2 separate regions of the Homo sapiens genome follow, and region 2 is linked to region 1. Evidence: promoter capture Hi-C in 16 types of primary human blood cells and fetal thymus (Javierre and others, 2016). All regions are on one chromosome and are shown on one strand. The core of a region is centred on a gene start or on the middle of the fragment in contact, and the rest is flanking DNA. Distances in the headings are between cores, read along the strand shown.

Evidence for each region. The method cuts DNA at HindIII sites, captures the fragments that hold promoters and counts their contacts. A CHiCAGO score of 5 or more calls a contact.
Region 2: a contact is called between a fragment that was not itself captured here and the fragment with the promoter of UQCRC2 in region 1, in 1 of 17 cell types (naive CD8 T cells). The highest score is 5.0, in naive CD8 T cells.

What each region holds. Positions count from the first base shown.
Region 1 is chr16:21,949,650-21,954,730 of GRCh38, forward strand. It overlaps UQCRC2 (ubiquinol-cytochrome c reductase core protein 2), which reads left to right and starts at 3,712. Exons shown (of 14, transcript NM_003366.4): 1 at 3,712-3,807. The coding sequence starts at 3,775. RefSeq lists enhancers at 3,045-3,504, 3,593-4,310, 3,825-3,994, 4,005-4,054. The HindIII fragment of the contact is 11,485 bases long and covers 1-5,081 here.
Region 2 is chr16:21,802,830-21,807,232 of GRCh38, forward strand. It overlaps the pseudogene RRN3P1. Among named protein-coding and RNA genes, the nearest start is that of NPIPB4, 53 kb to the right of the region's middle. The HindIII fragment of the contact is 9,470 bases long and covers 1-4,403 here.

The DNA.
Region 1 (5,081 bases), core at 2,462-4,961:
CACTCCAGCCTGGGCAACAAGAGTGAAACTCTCCAAAAAAAAAAAAAAAAAAAAAAAAAAGAGGGAGGAGGGAGGGAGGAAGGGAGGGAGAGAGAGAAACAGAGAAAGAGAGACAGAGAGAGAGAGAGAAAGGAAAGGAAGAAAAGGAAAGGAAGGAAGGAAGACAGCTATCAATTTACATTGCCAGGGTGAAATTCAACAAAACTGTTTTAGGGTAAAGATCCTCAGATCCACATGGAATTGCCCTGTGGGCAAATTGTAAGGTAAGTTATGTAGCTTTTTATCCTTATAGCTATCTTATTTAGGAATAAAACGGGAGGCAGGTTTGTCTGACATCATTCCCAGCTTGAATTTTCCCTTTGGCTTAGTGATTTGGAGGCCCTGAGATTTTTTTTCCTTTCACACTTCCTAACTCATTTTATCTATGACAGAAAAATGCATGAATGGGGGGAATGAAAGTGAAAGTTAAAGCCAGTATCACTCTGGAACATAAATGCACAAATCCTAAACAAATAAGTAGCAAATTAGGTCTAGCAATATATTAAAAGAATAAAACATCCAGACCAAGTTGGGTTTATAACAGGAATGAAAGGTTTATTTATAATTTGAATCAATCAATATAACTTAACACAGAATAAGACCAATCTGTTCACCTCAATACATGGAAAAAGTATATGTGACCAAAAACAATAATTATAGAATATTAGAAATTGATATGAACTTTTTTTTCCCCCCCGAGACAGAGTCTCGCTGTGTCGCCTAGGCTGGAGTACAATGGCAGTGATCTCGGCTCACTGCAACTTCCGCCTCCCAGGTTCAAGCAATTCTCCCTGCCTCAGCCTCCCGAGTATCTAAGATTTCAGTCAACTGCCACCATGCCCGGCTAATTTTTGTATTTTTTTTTCAGTAGAGACAGGGTTTTGCCACGTTGGCCAGGCTGGTCTTGAACTCCTGACCTCAGGTGATCCACCCACCTTGGCCTCCCATAGTGCTGGGATTACAGGCATGAGCCACTGTGCCTGGCCCAGGGAATATTTCATCAGAGATAATACCTGACAGGGTAGGATTCTGAAAGGAATGGGGAAGGAAATGCCAACATCGAAATTATGCATTGGGGAAGCCATGATTAATGCCTCTGGCCCTAAGATGGCAAGGTAATGTTGTTCCCAAGTATAAACCCACATCACCTTCCTCTGGTGTGTTTTACTCCTACTGTTGCCTGCTTTCTCTTTACATTCTCCCACCCCATACTCACCGCGAGCGCTCAGGCTAGGTAGTTAGGCTCCATAGAGTCAAATTGGACCCCACATTAACGAAACTAACAATTCGAGCTTTCCAGCAATGAACTCATCTGCTCTTCCATGTCTACTCTTTTCCTGTCTGCTGGTTTCCTCTCCCAGGGCTTTCAGTGTGTTCTACGCAGAAACCAGTTCAAGGACTGGGTTTTCTTCTGCAATAAAATGCTGGAGTTGTGGCAGAGACCTCCACAGTGAGAACAGCCACGGAGTTGGCTAGGAGGTGACATGATGTGGAAGTGGTGGATGTGTCCACAAGATGGCACTCCTAATTTGTAGCTTAATGCTTAATAGGACATTTTGCAATTGACAAACTTGGGATTTTATGATTTATGTAGCTGATATCATGAATTATGTTTCAAATCCTGCCACATTTTGAACAGAATTTATTTTTGCCCCTTTCTGATATTGGGTCATAACCTAAGAATGAGAGGACATTATAAGCAGGTGTGGGTGTGTGTGTGTGTGTGTGTGTGTGTGCACTTGAGTGTGGAGACTTTTGTGTTCCTCCTACCTGACCTGAACTGTTGAATGATGAAGTTACAATGATTGGACTCAGGGGTGCAGCTAGCTAACTTGGGAATTGGGGTTTTGAAGTACTGGAGACAGCTTTGTATGCCATGTTAATGAATTTGAATTTTATCCTGAAAAACGTGGCTGTCGTTGAAGAATTTTAAGCAGGCAGGTGGCTTGATCAGAGCACTGCTTCCCAGATTTCACTCAATGGTACCTGTATAACACATTCATGATTTTTGCTGTATCTCCGTATCATCAAGTTACTTAACGTTTTTACACCAACTTTTATTATTTTATAAATGTACTTAAAGAGGAAATTCACTACTAGCATTGCTTGCCATAATCAAAATAAATATATTATTAAAATGGAACAGTGCTAAATAAGGTGTACACATGGACATAGAGTGTGGAATGACAGACAATGGAGACTCCGAAAGGTGGAGGGGTGGGAGAGAGGTGAACGATGAGAAAGTACTTAATGGGTACCATGTACATTATTCGGGTGATGGGTACACTAAAAGCCCAGACTTCACCATTACTGCAATATATCCATATAACATAACTGTACTTGCGCCCCTTAAATTTATACAAATTTTTAAAAGGAAAAAATGGAAGTGTTCATCTATGTACCAACTTAAAATCATCTCACGCACCACTAGTGTTAAATCTACCACATGTGGGGAAACTGTGTGGTATGAATTGGGTTGAGGGCGTCCCCAGCAGGCACAGAAATTGGGTTGGTGCCAGGTTCTTAATGCCCAGATCTTAATTAGAGAGCCCAAGTCCGTTGTAGGCCTGGAGCAATTCAGACACAAGGCAAAAAGAAAGTACATTTGCCTATGCCTTGTAACGTCTACACCACCAGCCTTTCTGAAACTATTGTGCATACGAAGTCATCCCAGGATCTTGTAAAAACACCGATTCGGATCCAATATGGGACCTGGAGTTCATACATTTCTAATCAACTCCTAAATGATATTGATGCTGATACTGTCGGTTTCCCAACCAAGCAACGTAGCAAGGTACGAAACTCTAAAGTCCCTAAAGGGCAGGGACCACGCCTCTCGCGTTGGCATAGTGCCTAGCTCAAGGCACTTTCTGGGTTAACACTCGCTGAGGACCGGAGTGAACGCCCCCGCCCCAAGTCGTCACGTGACTGACTTTCTCCAACTGCCGGTTTCGGCTCACATAACACACCTACTATCCAAAACATTTCTATTTTCCTAACACAAAAACTATAGCTAAGTTTTTATATTCTATGTAGCCCCAGCCTAGGACGTAAATTCCACGAGACCAAAAGCCTTGTGATGATTCCCCGAGGTTGCTGACCCTCCCGGTGTGTCCCGGGCCTGCTCTGGGGGACACAGCGGCGAATACGTTGAACGAGGCCCCTGTTTCACGGAGCTAAAGATCCAGTAAGGACTTCACCCAGCGAGAGGCAACTACGCCGGGCTTCGATACCCAATACCTCTGCAGAAAGGTGGAGTGGCAGGAATCTCCTGAAGCCTCCAACGTCCAGGAACGCGGAAACCCAGGGCCTCCAGTGCAGGTGTCATCCCGGAGGGCGCATGCGGAGTCCCAAGAGAGGCGCGTCCCATTGGACAATGCTGAGCGGAAGAGCCCAAGATAGCGGGGGGAGTTGTGACAGGCTGCTGCAGACGTACTTAGAAAAGGGGTGCATACTGGATATTCAGGCTAGGAGAAGAACGCAAAAAGCAGTGACGTACATTATTCTCTGCATATATTTACTTGGGAAATTGTGCGTCTCCCTATTCTGAGTCTTGGAGGAATTGGACTGGTCCAACCTTATAAAGAGAGCAGTAGAGCGCGGCAGTATAGAGAGTACCTCACGAAGGGGACGTGGGAAAGTGTTAGCGGGGAACGCTGGGAAACTCCCGGCCTCCGCCACCATCTTGCTTTCCTTTAATCCGGCAGTGACCGTGTGTCAGAACAATCTTGAATCATGAAGCTACTAACCAGAGCCGGCTCTTTCTCGGTGAGCTCAGGTGGCGGGTTTGGGAAAGGGCTGGGGAGCAGTGTGTCGACAAGGTGATACGAGGCGGAGGTGTCTGGTCTGGGGTCTGGGCCTTGGGATTCGGTCTGCCCTTCAGCTGAACCCTGCGGGCCAAGTGGGCTGCAGACTGGGTCAGGCTTTGGAGGCCCAGCTCATGCTGTGAGCACAAGAGACCTAACACCGGGAAACCTGAAGAGAGGGGCAGGACGTGAGAGCGGAGTTGAAGCGAGTCCTTGGAGAGACTTCTGAAGGTCACTCCGGTACTCAAGTGCTGGAGAAAGAGACCGTGAAACCCAGGGGGAGCGGGAGGACGGCGCACTTAGCCCCCCACCTTCACTTTATCCGCTGCAGCCTCTGCTCCTTGGTTTATCACGGAGCGTCAGTTTCCCCAGCGAATAAAAGTATAAGAAAGGAGCTAATGCAGATAGAACACTTATTACAGTACCTGGAACTTCATTGTTAAATACTATGGTGTCTTAGTAGTCTAACGTTGCTTTTCTTGATCGTATGTTAGACGGTTCCTCCAAGACGTCTCTGTTTGTCCTCAAAAGCTCCTTAATTAAGTTTCCCCTTCAAGCCTAAATTAAACATAGCTGTCACTTGGGGAAAACTCACACATCAGGGTTATATCACTGTGGGACAGTGGTTATTAAGAGGGGTAAGGGGGAACACTTAAAAAATCATAGCGAGGGACAGAATGCCCCCAGGGAACCGGTGGCGATGTTTGGAGACATATTTAGTTGCAACAACTTGTAAGGAGGGTGCTATTGGCATGGAGAGGCCAGGGATGCTGCTAAACTTCGCCTTACAGCAAAGAATTATCTAGCCCCAAGTGCCAGTAGTAGTACCTGTGTTGAGAAACCCCCCTAGATGGAGATGCAGAAGACCAGACCTGGGCATGGAATGTTCTTATGCTTTATGTTTACATAAATGTGCTGTGGGCTATATCGATTTAGGCTGTAATTGCATTAACCTTCCAGGTATACCTAGACACACCAGTGATTACCCTTGGAGGGAAGCACGGTTAGATTGGCAAAAGACCCCAACATTTCCTTCTCCATTCTATTTTGCAACAGAAAAAGCTCAGAGAAAACAGTTGGAGAGGCCCAAAGTAAACAAATTGCAGTAAACTTGAAAGCAATTATTTATGTGTCTAATTTTAGCACTTTATATAGGAGAATAAACTTAGATATATCTTGTTATTAGAACAAAATAATTTAGAAGATTGCATGACAGTTACTAGGATAATTTGCTGA
Region 2 (4,403 bases), core at 1,394-3,893, 150 kb before region 1:
CAGATTAGTGCCTTATATCACACCCCAACACAATACACAATTATGGTGCAAGCCTGTAAACTGACCTAGGTCATGAAGGAATTTAAATATAATAAACCAAGCCCCTTTTACTACATACTTATATAAAATCGACAACTATCACATGATGCTCTATGTCAGGTAGCCTCAACAAATTCAACATTTATTCTAGCTCTGATATGGTCTGGCTCTGTGTCCCCACCCAAATCTCACTTTTTTTTTTTTTTTTTTTTGAGGCAGAGTTTTGCTCTTGTTGCCCAGGCTGGAATACAATGGCAAGATCTTGGCTCACCGCAAACTCCGCCCCCCAGGTTCAAGAGATTCTCCTGCCTCAGCCTCCTGAGTAGCTGGGATTACAGGCATGTGCCACTGTGCCCAGCTAATTTTGTATTTTTAGTAGAGATGGGGTTACTCCATGTTAGTCAGGCTGGTCTCGAACTCCTGACCTCAGGTGATCCACCGGCCTCAGCTTCCCAAAGTGCTGGAATTACAGGCATGAGCCACCACGCCTGGCCCCAAATCTCATCTTGAATTGTACTCCTGTAAGTCCCACATGTTGTTGGGGGGGGGACTGGTGGGAGATAATTTGAATCATAGGGTAGGTTTCCCCCATACTGTTCTCATGATAGTGAATAAGTCTCACGAGATCTGATGGTTTTATCAGGGGTTTCCACTTTTACATCTTCCTCATTTTCTCTTGCCGCCACCATGTAAGAAGTGCCTTTCACCTCCCGCCATGATTCTGAGGGCTCCCCAGCCATGTGGAACTGTAAGTCCAATTAAACCTCTTTTTTGGCCAGGTGCAGTGGCTCACGCCTGTAATCCCAGCACTTTGGGAGGCCGAGGTGGATGGATCATGAGGTCAGGAGATTGAGACCATCCTGGCTAACACAGTGAAACCCCATCTCTACTAAAAATACAAAAAATTAGCCGGGCATGGTGGCACGTGCCTGTAATCCCAGCTAATCAGGAGGCTGAGGCAGGAGAACTGCTTGAACCCGGGAGGTGGAGGTTGCAGTGAGCCGAGATCGCACCACTGCACTCCAGCCTGGGCAACAGAGCGAGACACCATCTCAAACAAACAAACAAAAACATCTCTTTTTCTTCCCAGGCTCAGCTATGTCTTTATCAGCAGTGTGAAAATGGACTAATACAATCTCTATGCACAAGACACTCACAGACACATTGTGTAATAAACATATCGTCAATCAATTGAGCAGAAAAATGATGAACTGCAAGCCAAATGTGCATGATGCAATATTTATTTTGGTATATCACCATTCAAATATCTTAACATACCACTCAAACCATGCCATTTTTTATTAACTATGCCTGACCTTCTTTGTAAACATTCTAAAATGTTCCTTAAGTATATACCAGAGAAAGACTATAAAGAGTACATATACAGTTGGCCAGAGAGGTGCAACTCCAAGGGAGCACTGCACCAGTGAGCCCAAGCTCCAGCTCTTCTAAGACCTTGTTCCATCTTCCTGCTTTCCTATAGCATCAATGTTTTCCTCCACCAAAGCTCCTCTCCCCTCAGTCCACAAACCTGCTCACATCTCCCCACTCCTAAACCACGCCTCTTAGCCCTGCTCCATCCCCTCCTTCCACCACAACCCTGCACCAAGGTCTCTAACAGCCCCAATTCTGCTTCCCCACCATCCACATCCTCTCCCGAAATGCAGTTTCTGCGTCTTCACTGACATGGTCCTCCAGAAAGCAACAAAGACTACCTTCTAACCACTAAATCCAAGGACTGTTGCTCTTTTCATCTTTCTAAAAAATGACAGCAGTATCTGATGCTGCTGACCAAACTCCTCCTTCCAGCGGATTCTTCCTGAGCATCCAGACTCTTGGTTTTCCCCATACTTCTGATCACCCTTCTCCTCCCCTGTCCTAAACTGCATCTTTCCAAAGGTTTATGCTCAGGTCCCCATCTGCAGCCACGACTGCCTGTGAGTATTCTCTGGTAGGCTGCCCACCAGCAACTGAACCTGGCCAAGATGGAACTACTCTTCCAACTGCCTCCTCTTCATATTTTTTTTTTCTTTTTTTTTGAGACAGAGTCTTGCTCTGTCACCCAGGCTGGAGCAGAGTGGCACAATCTGGGCTCACTGCAAGCTCCACCTCCCAGGTTCACACCATTCTCCTGCCTCAGCCTCCCGAGTAGCTGGGACTATAGGTGCCCACCACCATACCCGGCCAATTTTTTATATTTTTAGTGAGACAGAGTTTCACCATGTTAGCCAGGATGGTCTCGATCTCCTGACCTCGTGATCCGCCCGCCTCGGCCTCCCAAAGTGCTGGGATTACATGCGTGAGCCACCACACCCAGCCTCCTCTTCATATTTCTAACTACCATTAATGGCAACACCAAGATTCGATTCCACAGGGAGCAACTATTGAAGGATTCCTTTCCCTTACTGTCTGCCTCCCCTCCTCCAAACCAGTCTCAAGGACCAGTTCACCTTTCCTCACAATGTCACTAGAATCTACCACTTCCTTTCATTCCCACTGCACCTTAGTGCGGGCCTCCTTAAACAAAGTTTTAACTGTTTATAATTATAATCTGCCCTTAAGAAAGGCCAAACAGGAAAAATCACTTCCGTAGGAATCCCTTCCTGACCCCACTGTGATTCTATCAGGTTCTCTAACTCATAATGTATGTTTCATTCATGGCATTTTCCACAACCATACTTTTACATTTGGATAACTATGTATTTAACGCCTTGTTCTCCAATCATGAGAAGGAACTGTCTACAACTCCCAGCACATGCACAGATGGAGTTCAAGACACATTCAAAGAAAGGAAGCAAAGAATGGTGCTAGTGGTTTCTTTTCTTTTCTTTTCTTTTTTTTTTTTTGAGATGGAGTCTCGCTCTGTCGCCCAGGCTGGAGTGCAGTGGCACGATCTCAGCTCACTGCAAGATCTGCCTCCCGGATTCAAGCAATTCTCCCACCTCAGCCTCCTGAGTAGCTGGGATTACAGGCACCCACCATCATGCCTGGCTAATTTTTTTTTTTTTTTTTTATAGAGACGGGGTTTCGCCATGTTGGCCAGGCTGGTCTTGAACTCCTGACCTCAGGTGATCTGCCTGCCTCGGCCTCCCAAAGTGCTGGGAATAAAGGCATGAGCCACCATGCCTGGCCAAGTGGATTCTTTTCTATCACTGACTATTGTTTCCACATACTGTGATTATAACAAATTCAAGTCAGTAAATGAAAATAAAAAAATAAAAAATAAAAAAAAGAAAATAAAAATAGATTACTCAATACTTACATCCAGCTTGAGTAGTTTTTCAATAATAAGCTCCAGAATTTCATGCCTCAAGGTTGGAAAATATACACTAATCCTTAGTAAGTTATGAACGTAACATTCCTAAAGGAGAAAACGTAAGATAAAACATTTCAACAGAGAATAAATATTTCACAGTTATGTAAGAAAAACATCAATTACATGACCTTTAGTTTCAAATATTGAAAAAGAAAAAAACAGACTATCCAGCAATACAAAAACTATACTGTTTCTACATGTATTATGTTCGGTATAATCATTTCAATTATCCCCAGTAAATGAAATTTTTAATTTGCATAACTATAGGTTTTTAAGTAGCTGTATTGATAAAACTCATATATCATACAATCACCAACTTAAAGTATACAATTTAAGTTTTTAATATATTCAGTTATGTGACCGTCAACATAATCAATTTCAGAACATTTATTTTTCTTTTAGAGACAGGGTCTTGCTCTCTCTCTCAGGATGAGGTACAGTGGGTGCAATCATAGCTCACTGCAACCTTGAATTCCCGGGATAAGCAATCCTTCCTCCTCAGCCTCCCTAGTAGCTAGAACTACAGGTGCACACCACCACATGAGGTTAATTCTTCCTTTTAGGGAGACATTTTCTCACTATGTTGCCCAGGCTGGTCTTCAACTCCTGGATCTTCCCACTTCAGCCTCCCGAAGTGCTGTGATTATGGGCATAAGCCACTGCACCCAGCCAGCAATTTTGTAACATTTTAATCACTCTAAAAAGAAATCCTACATCCATTAGTGCACCCCTAAAAAATGAAGACCTTGGCAACCACTAGTCTTTCTATGAATCTGCCTCTTTGAGACATTTCATATAAATGGAGTCATATAATACATGTTTTTAGGGTTCAATCATGTTGTAACATGTAAACCATTCCTCTCATATCAATGGAGTCATACACAGTTTGTGGCATGTTTTTAAGGTTCAATCATGTTGTAACATGTAAACCATTCCTTTCCTATCAATGGAGTCATATAATACACAGCCTTTTGGCATGTTTTTAGGGTCCAATCATGTTGTAACATATAAAGCATTCCTTTTCATTGCTGAGTAATATTCCATTGTA